Regions from separate parts of the Homo sapiens genome. Here region 2 is linked to region 1. Evidence: promoter capture Hi-C in 16 types of primary human blood cells and fetal thymus (Javierre and others, 2016). All regions are on one chromosome and are shown on one strand. The core of a region is centred on a gene start or on the middle of the fragment in contact, and the rest is flanking DNA. Distances in the headings are between cores, read along the strand shown.

Region 1 (5,710 bases), core at 53-2,552:
AACCATGGATTCTTCCCTCCTCTTTCTCACCCTCCACATCGGAAAATTTGGTCAGCTTGACTTAAAAGACATCAAGTTCCCAATCACTTCCTCTACCTCCAGTCCTCACTCTGGTCCGGCCAGCCGCAGCACTGGCCTGGGCTATTCCATTAGGCTACTCCTTGGCATCCCTGCTTGCGGCTCACTCCATATTCAGTTCTCCACTGTGCATCCACAGGGAGCCTGTTAAGACCTGAGTCACAGCATCTTCCTCCTCTGCCCTAAACCTTCCATGGCTCCCAACACCCTCAGAACAGAGGCCCAGCTCTGCCGTTCTGAGCTGTCTTCAGCCCACCTGCTCTCTGGTTCCAGCAGACATAATATTAATAACACTGACCTGGGTGGGGTTCCTTGAACACTCCCAACTCAGTCTCCACACCGTGCCCCACCCCACCCCCAAGCTTTTGCGCACGCTGGTTCCTGTGCCTACAAAGCCCTTTCTCCCTCCATCCCATTACATTTCAGCAACGGAAGCCACTTTATATAAACCCTGCCCTGATTCAGGATCCTAGCTGGGAGCAACTCCCTTCCAGGGTCCCCTGACTCAAAAGCAAGGAAATGGGAAAGGCGAAAAGTCCTAGAACAAAGCCATCTTTTGCGTCTCAACACCGAGAACAGAAGCGTGGGGGGCCGACAGCGAAGGGCCTAACGTCCAAGCACTCACCTGCGCGGGGTCCCGCAGCGCCGCCGCTGCCATCGGAGTCTGTGGTCAGAGCAGGGCCCCACGGTGCGGGAAACCACGGGGCGGGGGTAGGGGGTCTCGCAGGCTGAGGCTACCACCCACCTGGCCGTGCCCCAGACGAGGTGTGACCCCGGGCTGAGGGTCGCACTCCTAGCCTCAGTCTCCCCCGTGCAAAATGCGCAAGGGGCCCGGGGCGCAGGCTCCGGGGGCGCCGAGAGCGCGCAGCTCCGCTGGGTACCCCCGTTGCAAGGGGTCACGGCTGGTGCAAAGGCGCGGAGGGGGTCCCGGCCTCACTGTCCCCCTCGCGGTCCGGGAAAGCCGGCGGGGCAGCTTCACGGGCGTAGCCCCAGCCGCCCCGCCCCCAACTCGGGGTCCCCAGCTCCTGGGGACTCAGCCTCCCCGCCGGGAAATGACCTGCGAGGCTGCAGTGCAGGAAGTTCCGGCCCCCACCGTGGCGGCCGGGAGAGTTGCCCTCTCCCGTACTGTCATTGGCCTGGCGCCAGCCGCTGGTGCACAGGCAGGGCCTGGGGATCGCGAGTTTCTGCCCAGCCTCTCGTCAGGCTGAGGGTCCAGGGCGGGAAGGAGAGCGGATCTCGTCGGGTCTCCACCGCCGCCGCCTGCAGCCCTCGGGCCTTCCCCTTAAAGGGGCCGCTCCCGAGCCTGCAGCCGCCCGCGCTAAACCCCGCCCACCCTCCGAGGTCCAGGAGGAGAGCCCCAGTGCTCTTCCTGCGCGTGTGGGCATCGGCCAGCCGCTTCACCCCTAAGGGACCTAAATTCACACTGGAAAATGGGGATAGTACCCAATGGGCGGGGTCTTTGCGTTGTAATATTAAATGTCGCTCTGATTCAGGGCTTCTCAAACCAGCAACATCAGCATCACCTGGGGACTGGCTGAAAATGCAGGTTCTGGGGCAACAACTTAAATCTAAGGACTCAGAAATTCTGGGGATGGGATTCAGCCTTCTCTACTTTTTGCGGGGGGGGCGGGGGGGATGGGTCTCGTTCTGTTGTCCAGGCTGGAGTGCAGTGGCCTGATCATAGCTCACTGCAGCCTCCATCTCGGGCTCAAGCTATCCTCCTGCCTCAGCCTACCAGGTAGATGGGATACAGGCGTGCACCATCATACACAGCTAATTTTAAAATTTTTTGTAGAGACTGGATCTCCCTGTGATGCCTAGGCTGGTCTCAAACTCCTGAGCTCAAGTGATCCTCTCACCTCGGCCTCCCAAAGTGTTGGGAATTGCAGGAGTGAGCCATGGTGCCAGGCCTCCTTCTCTGTTTTAACAAGCCCTCTGGGGACTCCAATGCTGGCTCCAACTTTACAGCAGGGACTCTCATTGAAATCCAGTAAATAAAATGGGAAAAATAACACTACATTGTTGCAGGAAGTCAGGGACCCCGAACGGAGGGACCTGCTGAAGCCGTGACAGAAGAACATTAATTGTGAAGATTTCATGGACATTTATTAGTTCCCCAAATTAATACTTTTATAATTTCTTATGCCTGTCTTTACTGCAATCTCTGAACATAAATTGTGAAGATTTCATGGACATGTATCGCTTCCCCAATCAATACTCTTGTGATTTCCTATGCCTGACTTTACTTTAATCTCTTAATCCTGTCATCTTCGTAAGCTGAGGATGTATGTCATCTCAGGACCCTGTGATGATTGCGTTAACTGCACAGATTGTTTGTAGGGCATGTGTGTTTGAACAATATGAAATCTGGGCACCTTAAGAACAGGATAACAGCGATTTTCAGGGAACAAGGGAGATAACCTTAAAGTCTGGCTGCCTGTGGGACGGGCAGGACAGAGCCATATTTCTCCTATTACCAAAAACGGGTAAGAGAAATATCGCTGAATTCTTTCCCCAGTAAGGAATATTAATAATTAACAGCCCTGGGAAAATAATGCATTCCCAGGGCAGTGCCTCTAAAATGGCTGCCCTGGGAGTGTCTGCCTTATGCACATGTAGATAGGGATGAAACACACCCTAGTCTCCTGCAGCGCCCCCAGGCTTGCTAGGATTAGGAAATTCCAGCCTGGCGAACTCTAGTCAGACCAGTTCTCTGCTCTTGAACCCTGTTAAGATGTTTATAAATGACAATGCGTGCACAGCAGGACATGGAAGCTCATGAGTGATTCTAGTTTTGCCCTGACCTTGTGATCTCGCCCTGACCTTCTGCCTTGTGATCTTTTGTTGCCCTTAAAGCATGTGATCTCTGTGACCCACACCCTATTCGTACACTCCCTCCCCTTTGAAAATTGCCAATAAAAACTTGCTGGTTTTATGGCTCGGGGGCATCACGGAACCTGCTGACATGTGATGTCTCCCCCAGACACCCAGCTTTAAAATTTATCTCTTTTGTACTCTTTCCCTTTATTTCTCAGACCAGCCGACACTTAGGGAAAATAGAAAAGAACCCACATTGAATTATCGGGGGTGGGTTCCCCCGATACTACATGTCATATGGTGAAACCACCTTTGTAAAAATTATAACTGAGAAAATTATGACAGTGAGAGATCTGACCTAACCAACTCCATCTTGCTTCTAACCTCCAAGCTGTCCTTGTTCGTTCCTGAGCATAGGCCTAACTAACTTTGGGAGAAACTCAGTTTACAGTTTAACTTTGAAGCAAAGATAACAGCCCTTTCCCTCTAGGCCGGGCATGGTGGTTCACCCCTGTAATCCCAGCACTTTGGCAGGCCGAGGCAGGCGGATCACGAGTTCAGGAGATCGAGACCATTCTGGCTAACATGGTGAAACCCTGTCTCTACTAAAAATACAAAAAATTAGCCAGGTGTGGTGGCGGGCACCTGTAGTCCCAGCTACTCAGGAGGCTGAGGCAGGAGAATGGCATGAACCCCGGGAGGTAGAGCTTGCAGTGAGCTGAGATCGCCTCCAGCCCGGGCAACAGAGCGAGACTCCATCTCAAAAACAAAAACAAACAAAAAAACCCAGCCCTTTCCTGAAACAAACCCTCTTCTTGTCTGGGGACCAGACTGCCTTTGTAGGATTAACAAAAGCCACAAGATTAGAGAGTATGGTTTAGGAGTCATGCAGCCAGGGGCCAGGGGTCACAAGATTTTAAACCTTCCCAATTGCTACTGGGGATAACATCACTATTGTAAAACCTAAGATTGGTGCTCGAGATATTTTTCAGACCCAGCACTCGATGGATCAGCTAGTGCCACCCAGATTGATAAACTGGGTCATCTGGTCCTGTGGTCCCCACCCTGGAATTTACTCAGTGCAGTTAGTCAACTTTGACTCCCTGTGATTTCATCTCTAACCCAACTAATCAGCACTCCCCACTACCTGGCCCCCCACCCACCAAATTATCCCTGAAAACCTCTGATCACTGAATTTTCAGGGAGATCAAGTTGAGTAATAACTCTGTTTCTCCCATGGCATGGCTGGCCCTGTGTCAGTTAAAGACTTTGTTTACTGCAATGCCGTGGTCTTTTTGTAGCAGGCAAAAAGAACCCATTGGGTGGTTACAATGGTAGATAACAGGGCCCAGGACAGAATTCCTGCTGGGTGCATAAAAGCTATTGTCATTACCAACACCATCATCACAAGAATCTTACAAACACTGCTGTGGGGCGGCAGGGAAGAGACACCTCTGTGCAGTCTTTTGGATGTTTGTCAAAATATACAATGACTCTAACTCAGCAAGTACCGCCTCAGAGGGAATAGTTATGATTTTTACATGAAAGCACACCATAGTAACATTTGCCTACTTGATTTTATTTTATTATTTTCTTATAGCTGCATTTTTTTGTTTTTCTAAATTTATAAAATAATATATAATTATTGTATGCAACATGATGTTTTGAAATATAGATACATTGTGGAATTGATAGGGACAGGAGGTAGGGAAATTCTGGGCAGAAGAGGCCAGGTCCATCAAGCTGAAAATCTTGATACCACGGCCCAAAGTGAGAACTTACATCCCTGTTTTCCCACTCAAATGTTGCCTTTTCCAAAACCACCCGTGGCTCACCCTGCCCCCCATCCTATGCCCATAAAAACCCCAGGCTCAGCCGGCAGAGAGAAGAAAAGCAGCTGGACATTGGAGACTATGGTTGGATGTTGGAGAGAAGCAGGCTGACTTCAAAGGGACAGCTTGACAGCGTAGCTTTGGAGAGGATGGCCAGGGATGGCCAAACTTCAGGGGACGATTACCTTCCTGCTCCATCCCCTTTTCAGCTCCTCTTCCTGCTGAGAGCCACTTTCACCGGCAATAAAATCCCCTGCATTTACCATCTTCAATTTGTTTGTGTGACCTCATTCCTCCTGGATGCCAGACAAAAACTTGGGTGCCATGAGTGTGGGTACAAAAGGCTGTCGCACTGACCCTCCACTGAGCTGTTAACACTTAAGCTATGCATGGATGGCAAAGCTAAAAGGGCACTGTAACACTTCGTCAGGGGCTTCAGGGGTCACAGCACCTTCCCCTAGACACTGCCGTGGGGCTAGTATGGAATTTGCTCTTGCCAGCACCCAAAAGCCCTCACCCTGTCTCCTGCACCCACTCACCTGTGCTCCCCTCCCCATGAGGGGTGGAACAACAAGCGAGTGGAGTTCGTCCCTGACAGCGCCCATGTACTCTAGTTCCCATCCAAGAAGGGGTCAGGGAAATATCCTGCTTCAGAATGACTAAATCAAGCTCATTAACATATGCATCACTTCACATTGTTTTGTTTTGAGACAGGGTCTCATTCTCTCACCCAGGCTGGAGTACGGTGGCACTATCGTGGCTCACAGCAGCCTTGACCTCTTGAGCTCAAGCCATCCTCCCACTTCAGCCTCCCGAGAAGTTGAGACTACAGACGTGCACCACAACACCCAGCTAGTTTTTTGTATCTTCTGCAGAGATGGAGTTTCACCATGTTGTCTAGGCTGGTCTCAAACTCCTGGGCTCAAGCACTCCTCCTTGCCTTGGTCTCCCAAAGTGCTGCGATTACTGGTGTGAGCCATGGC
Region 2 (6,422 bases), core at 3,493-5,992, 600 kb after region 1:
CTACCTCCCTATCCCTCTTCAGGTCTCCACCATCCACCAGATCCTGCCCTGGCGCCTGTGCCCTCCCTCCCCCACACCTGACTGGTCTTCCGTGGTGTCAGCTGTGTGGATGTGGTTGTCAAACCACAGATGGGACACAGTCATGCGGTTCTGAGTGAGAGTCCCTGTCTTGTCCGAGCAGATCACCGAAGTGGAGCCCAATGTCTCCACCGCCTCCAGGTTCTTGACCACGCAGTTCTTACTGGCCAGGCGCTTGGCTGTCAGGGACAGGCAGACCTGGGGAAGGGGTGAGCACCGCAGGCTGGGGACCCACCCTGGCTTCCAGTCCTCTTCCCCGCGTCAAAGAACGGGGAAGGCTTTACCCCAGCCGCGGGGCTGCGTGTGCAACGTGCTTCTGCAAACACCAGGTGTTTTCTTGGCCCCAGCTTTTGTTCAGCCAGTGCTTTGTTTGGGACTCCTTCCCCAGTCTGCCCAGATACAGTAGCGAGGCCCCTCTCTGAGCTGTCCCAGCCGAGGTTCTGAAAATTCTCTTCACACAATCAAAATGAGAAGAGGAACCTTCCCCGCACCTCCCTGGGGACTGGTCTGGAGCTGGGTGCTGACTGTGGAAGGTCTGGTGACATGCTGGCTGCCTGCACAGGACATCAGCCTCTTCCAGTTAAGGACCCGGCCTCGTCATCTCTGCGCCCTCAATGTGTGGCACAGGACTTGCCCCAGGGTTGCCTCGGGAAGGACTTGCTGAATGAGTGGATGATGGGAAGGCAGGAGAATGGATGGGAGCTAAGTGGACAGATAGACAGGCAGGGAGGTGATGGGGGAAATGTGGAGGAAAGAACAGATGGTTGAGCAGGCCCCTCAGCTCCCTGCATCCCCGCCTGCCCCCACTCACTGTGACAGTGGCCAGCAGCCCCTCAGGCACATAGGCCACCACGATGGCCATGAAGAAGACCATGGCCCGCAGGAAGGTGTAGCCAATGCACATGGCCACAATAAAAAATGTGGCACCGAAGAGAATGGCCAGGCCCGCGATGATGTCCACAAAATGCTCGATCTCGATAGCGATGGGTGTCTTCTCGTTTTCCACCCCCGACGCCAGCGATGCGATGCGCCCAATGATGGTGCGGTCGCCCGTGTTCACCACCAGGCCCTGCACGGTGCCTGCAGGGGGGCCAAGGCGCGACTCAGGGATAGGGGGCGGCAGTGGGGTGTGCACTGCCGTGTGAGCTGAAGGACAGCCAGTCACTGCCAGTGGAGGATGTGACCTGGGAGAGGGTAGTGACAGTGGGAGACAGAGAAGCAGTGTGCCCTGGGGAGGTGGCAGTCACGGGGAGGTGGCAGTCATGCAGGAGAGAGACAGGGAGGCTGAAGCCCCCTGTCCTAGAAGATAGCAGGAGAGAGGCCAGTGGAGGCAGCAGTTACTGGGCAGGCAGGCGGGGGCTTCACAGACCCTCAAGGCACATGGTGGAGAAGAAGGCGATGTTGCGGGTCTCCAGAGGGCTCTCGTGCGTGCACTCGGGTGAGCGGGTCTGTGGCTCAGACTCCCCTGTCAGCGAGGAGTTGTCCACCTTGCAGCCCTGGGCCGCCAGGATGCGGATGTCGGCGGGCACTCTGTCCCCACCTTTCATCTCCACCAGGTCGCCCACCACCAGTTGGTCAGCGTTGATCTGGAATTTGTCTCCATCGCGGATGACAGTGGCTTGCTGCGGGGCAGGGGCACCAAAGTTGAGGTGGACGGGGGTGGGGGTGGGAGCTGCTGCATGTGGGGAGGTAAAGGATGAGGAGAGCTGGGACCCATGGGGAGAGATGGAGGCCACAGATGAGGGACAGGGGCCTGATGGAAGGAGGCTACAGGAGCAGTTTGGAGTCTCTGGGATCTGGAGTGGCTGGGTGCTGGGGAACCCACCTGTGGCACAAGGTTCTTAAAGCTGGCGATGATGTTGGTGCTCTTGAATTCCTGGTAGTAGCCAAAGCAGCCGGTGACGACAACCACAGCAATGAGAGCGATTGCCAGGTACAGCTGGGGACAGGGAAGGGGTGGGGTTATTCAGAGGGGCCGGAAGCTGCCTGCCTGAGGCCACCGACCTGCTCCCTGGTGCCCTGGTTTTCTTGGTTTTCCCCATGCTTTTCCCCACCTACTAGGAAGCTCCATGCACCATTCCCTGTAGCCTTTAGCCCCCTCCCATGTCCCTCATGTCCCACACTCGCCTGCTCTGTCTTCTCAGTGTCTTGTGTTTCTGTGTATATTTCATATCCTCTGGCCCTGAATCCTCAATCTTCCATGTCCCCATATCTGTGACTTGTGCCCCAAATCACTGTGTGCCTTGGTCTGACGTGTTCCCTTCTCCTGTGTCCCCAAGCCTTGCATTCCCCATGTCCACTGTCCCATGTCTCCTCCTGTCCCCATGGCCTGTATTCCCCGTGTCTCCAGTTTCACATCCTGGGTTTTCCATAATCTGCTGCCACCCTCTGTGTGTCCCCTGGGCCCCCTTGTCCCTGCATCCTCACATCCCCGTCCCTGCGTGTGCTGCAGACCTTGTACGTCATGGTCTGTGTCCTCTGTGGCCACGGCCCCCATGTTCTAGCTCCCCAGTCACTGTGTCCCGTGTCTCCCATGTCTGTGTATCTCCGAGTTCCCATCCTGTGTCCCATGGCCATGACTTTTCGAGCCTCTGTCCCATGTCACATGTCCCTGAGTCCCCATGTCCCTTGCCCTCATCTCTGCCATATGTCCAATGTCCCTTGCCCTGCACCTCCATTTCCTCTCTGTCTCTGTGCTTCTATGTCTCATGTTTTGTGTCTCTCTATGTGCTGTGTCCTGAGGCTTGGGTCCCTGCCCTGGTGTCCTATGTCTGAGTCCCAGGGTCTCCTATTCCCCGTGCCTCAGTCTGTCCTGTGTCTGCACTGCATGTCCTCTGCTTCCAAGTCCCATCTCTTTTTTTTTTTTTTTTTTTTTTTTTTAAGATGCAGTCTCGCTCTGTCGCCCAGGCTGGAGTGCAGTGGCATGGTCTTGGCTCACTGCAACATCCACCTCCTGGGTTCAAATGATTCTCCTGCCTCAGCCTCCCAAGTAACTGGGATTACAGGTGCCCGCCACCATGTCTGGCTAATTTTTGTAATTTTAGTAGAGATGGGGTTTTGCCATGTTGGCCAGGCTGGTCTCGAACTCCTGACCTCAGGTGATCTGCCCGCCTCGGCCTCCCAAAGTGCTGGGATTACAGGCATGGGATTACACGCCCGGCCTCCAAATCCCATCTCTTACGTATCACATTGCCATACTCTTTATGCCCCCACCTATGTCCCCATACCCAAGATTCACCCCAGTGTCCCTGTGTCCTGTGTCCTTGGGTCTGCCCCATCCATATCCCAATGTCCTTCACCCTCCATGACCCCTGTCTTGAGACTGCCTTTCGTGTTCGTCTATCCCCATCCTTCTCTGCCCCTCTTGTCCCAAGTCCCAGGCTCAGTGTCTTCCATCCCCAGGTCCCCATGTCCTGAGCCTGTCCCCACAACATGGCTCACATTGTCGTCGGTGGTGAGGTCCCCCTCACTAGCCTGGATGGCAAAGGCGATGAGGCAGATGGCGGCGGCAACCCACATGAGGCACTGCAGGCCCCCGGCCAGCTGCCTCGCGAACTTGACGTACTCTGGGGTGCCCCGTGGTGGCCGCAGTGCGTTGGGCCCATCCCGCAGCAGCAGCTCAGCAGCCAGGCTCGCAGAGAGGCCCTGGGACAGAGGGGCAGGGCGAGGCGGTCCTGGGGGCTTTCCTCCACATGCACACCCCGTGGAAAGCCCCCTGCTTCAGTTTCCCTTCTCCAGCTTGGTCTGTCCTGCTCCTTCTCATCTCTTTGTCTCTTGGTTCCTGCCCCCACCCCATCTCTCCCTCCCTCCTTCATCTCTCCCTTTGTCTCTCTCTCCTCGCTCCCCTTTCTATGTGTCTCTCTCCTGCTGCTCTCTCCTTATTTGTCTCTGCCTTCTCTGTCTTGCTGTCTCTTTTCAGCTACTCCTCTCTCCGTCTCTGTGTGTCACCCTTTCTCTCTAATGCTTTCTCCCTTCTCTCCCTCTCCCTCTCTCTCCCTCTCTCCATCTCCCTCCCTCTCTCCTCCCCTCCCTCCATCCTTTCCTCTCTCCCTCCCTCCCTCTTTCCTTTTCTGCCTCCCTCCCTCTCTCTATTTCTCCATATCTTCCTCTCTTCATCTCTCCCTCTCTCTCCCTCTCTCCATCTCCCTCCTTCCATCTCCCTCTCCCTCCCTCTCTCCTCCTCCCCTTTCTGTACGCTCCCAGTCTCCAGCTCACCTTGGTGGCACTGGTCTGGTATTTCTGTTCCAGCTCCGCCACTGACAGCTGGTGGTCGTTCTGTGTGGTGGGGTGGGGCAGGGTGCTTGCTCTGGGCTCTCCTGGCCCCCTCCCCGCCCACTGCCTGGTTCCCAGCCTACCCTCCAGCTCCCGCCCCTCCCCAGTCAGAGCTCACAATCTCCATCTCCTTCTTCATGTTCTCCAGCTTCTCCTTCCTCTTGCCACCCCCGCCACCCGCCTTCTTCTTCTTGCTCATCTTGGCAGCCATGTCCCCGCCAGGGCCAGGACCCAGCTCCACCGAGTAGAGCTCATAGTTCTCCTGGGAATGGACAGGATGGAGGGAGGGAGAACTCAGATTCCACTGCAACCCCTGTCCCCACTGCACCCCGGACCCCTGGGCCCCACTCACGGCCTTCCCCATGGTGCCCGGTGCCTGTGCTCCCACCCAACAGAGCCTGGGCCCGGACCAGTCCTGATATACCCAGGGAGGGCGGTGGGGTGGAGCAGAACCGCCCGACCACAGCTGATTACAGGCTCCTTGGGGTGACCTCTAGGCCTGGGCACCTCAGGCATTCCCTCCTGGGCTGGCCCCCCCCTCCCCTGCCCAGATCCCCCCATGTCAACCTGCCCTGAGATCAGGGAGCCCCTGGGAACCGCTGCAGCAACAAGAAGAGCAAACATAAGGTGCTCATTATGCGCTGGGCATTGTGCTGACGGCTTCCATGTGCTAACTTATTTAACCTTCCAATAACCCTTTGAGGGGACAAGACCCTTTACAGATGGGGAAACTGAGGCATGGAGGGGTTGAGTCATTCTCCTATGGCTCCATCACAGGCTAGGACATAATGGAGTGAGAACCAGATCAGCTGGCTGCAGAGTGTCCTCTTTCAGTCTAAATAGCACGTGCCTGATCAACTGGAAGAGGAGGGTGCTCCCACACTCTTTTTTTTTTTCTTTTTTTTTTTGAGATGGAGTGTCACTCTGACACCCAGGTTGGAGTGCAGTGGTGCAATCTCAGCTCGCTGCAACCTCCGCCTCCCGGGTTCAAGTGATTCTCCTGCCTCAGCCTCTTGAGTAGCTGGGACTACAGGCACATGCCACCACACCCAGCTAATTTTTGTACTTTTAGTAGAGACGGGGTTTCACCAGGTTGGCCAGGCTGGTCTCGAACTCCTGACCTCAGGTGATCCACCCGCCTTGGCCTCCCAAAGTGCTGGGATTACAGGCGTGAGCCACCATGCCCTGCCATGCTTACAACACTCTCTATGGTGGCTGAATGTTTACTGAACTCTGACTATTCACTATGGGCTGGGTGTGCTCTGTGTGTCACTCAAATGGTTTCCTTAGCATCTAACAGCAGCCCTGTAAAGCAATATTCTCTTCTTAGCCCCCATCAGGGACTTTGCAGAAGATTTCAACGTCTAAGAATTAGGGACAGGGTTCCAGCCCGGGCTTGACCCCAGGGCTTGACCCCAGAGCCTAGCTCTTCTATGGCACCACCAATGGAAAAACCCAAACTTCACTGCAGCAGCACCACACACATGCCAGGCTCTGCACGTGTGACCTCACGGGTCTTTGCAAAAAACCCTGTGCAGGCAGAACTATCATTCCTGTTGTGCAGAGGGGGAAACTGAGGCTCACAGGGACTCACATATCCAGCTACAGACTTTACAGCTCTCAACCATTCCCCGTCCCTACCCTAGATGGGGAAACCAAGGTGCAACATGGGGAAAGGATGTGTCCAAGGGTCTTGGCTTGATCTTGGTGTTGGGTGACAGATGCCAGGAGGCCTGGGGACTCCCTCCTCATCCCTCAGGTAGGGACCTCCATGGGCAGCAGCAGCGAGGGGCTGGGCCAGTGGAATGGTGGGGACCTTGGTATGTTATGGGGTGAGCGTGTCTCCAGGAGCAGGTGAGCGTGCGCCTGATAAGATAACTGCCCTGGCAATGTCCTTCTCTACTGGGGCAGGTCACCTGGGAAACTCAAAGCTGTTGGGCAGCCAGAGCTCCTCCCCGCACCCACACGGCTGGTCATCCCCAGCCTGCTAGAAGAAACCTCCAAAGAAGAGGTGGCGTGGGGCCACATGCTGTCCTTGTAGTGAATCTACTCGCTCACTGGGCTCCCATCAG

Evidence for each region. Contacts are between HindIII fragments. The CHiCAGO score rates a contact against its expected background, and 5 or more counts as called.
Region 2: a contact is called between the fragment with the promoter of ATP4A here and the fragment with the promoter of ZNF792 in region 1, in 4 of 17 cell types (neutrophils, monocytes, naive CD4 T cells and 1 more). The highest score is 10.7, in neutrophils.

What each region holds. Positions count from the first base shown.
Region 1 is chr19:34,962,927-34,968,636 of GRCh38, forward strand. ZNF792 (zinc finger protein 792) reads right to left here and starts at 1,303. Exons shown (of 4, transcript NM_175872.5): 1 at 704-1,303. The coding sequence starts at 736. LOC124904699 (a long non-coding RNA gene) reads left to right here and starts at 500. Exons shown (of 2, transcript XR_007067236.1): 1 at 500-747; 2 at 4,765-4,994. RefSeq lists silencers at 645-694, 805-1,064. The HindIII fragment of the contact is 6,406 bases long and covers 439-5,710 here.
Region 2 is chr19:35,558,916-35,565,337 of GRCh38, forward strand. It overlaps ATP4A (ATPase H+/K+ transporting subunit alpha), which reads right to left and starts at 4,743. Exons shown (of 22, transcript NM_000704.3): 1 at 4,703-4,743; 2 at 4,469-4,612; 3 at 4,294-4,353; 4 at 3,520-3,723; 5 at 1,904-2,017; 6 at 1,448-1,700; 7 at 890-1,158; 8 at 78-276. The coding sequence starts at 4,714. RefSeq lists enhancers at 250-349, 5,898-6,399. The HindIII fragment of the contact is 9,853 bases long and covers 1-6,422 here.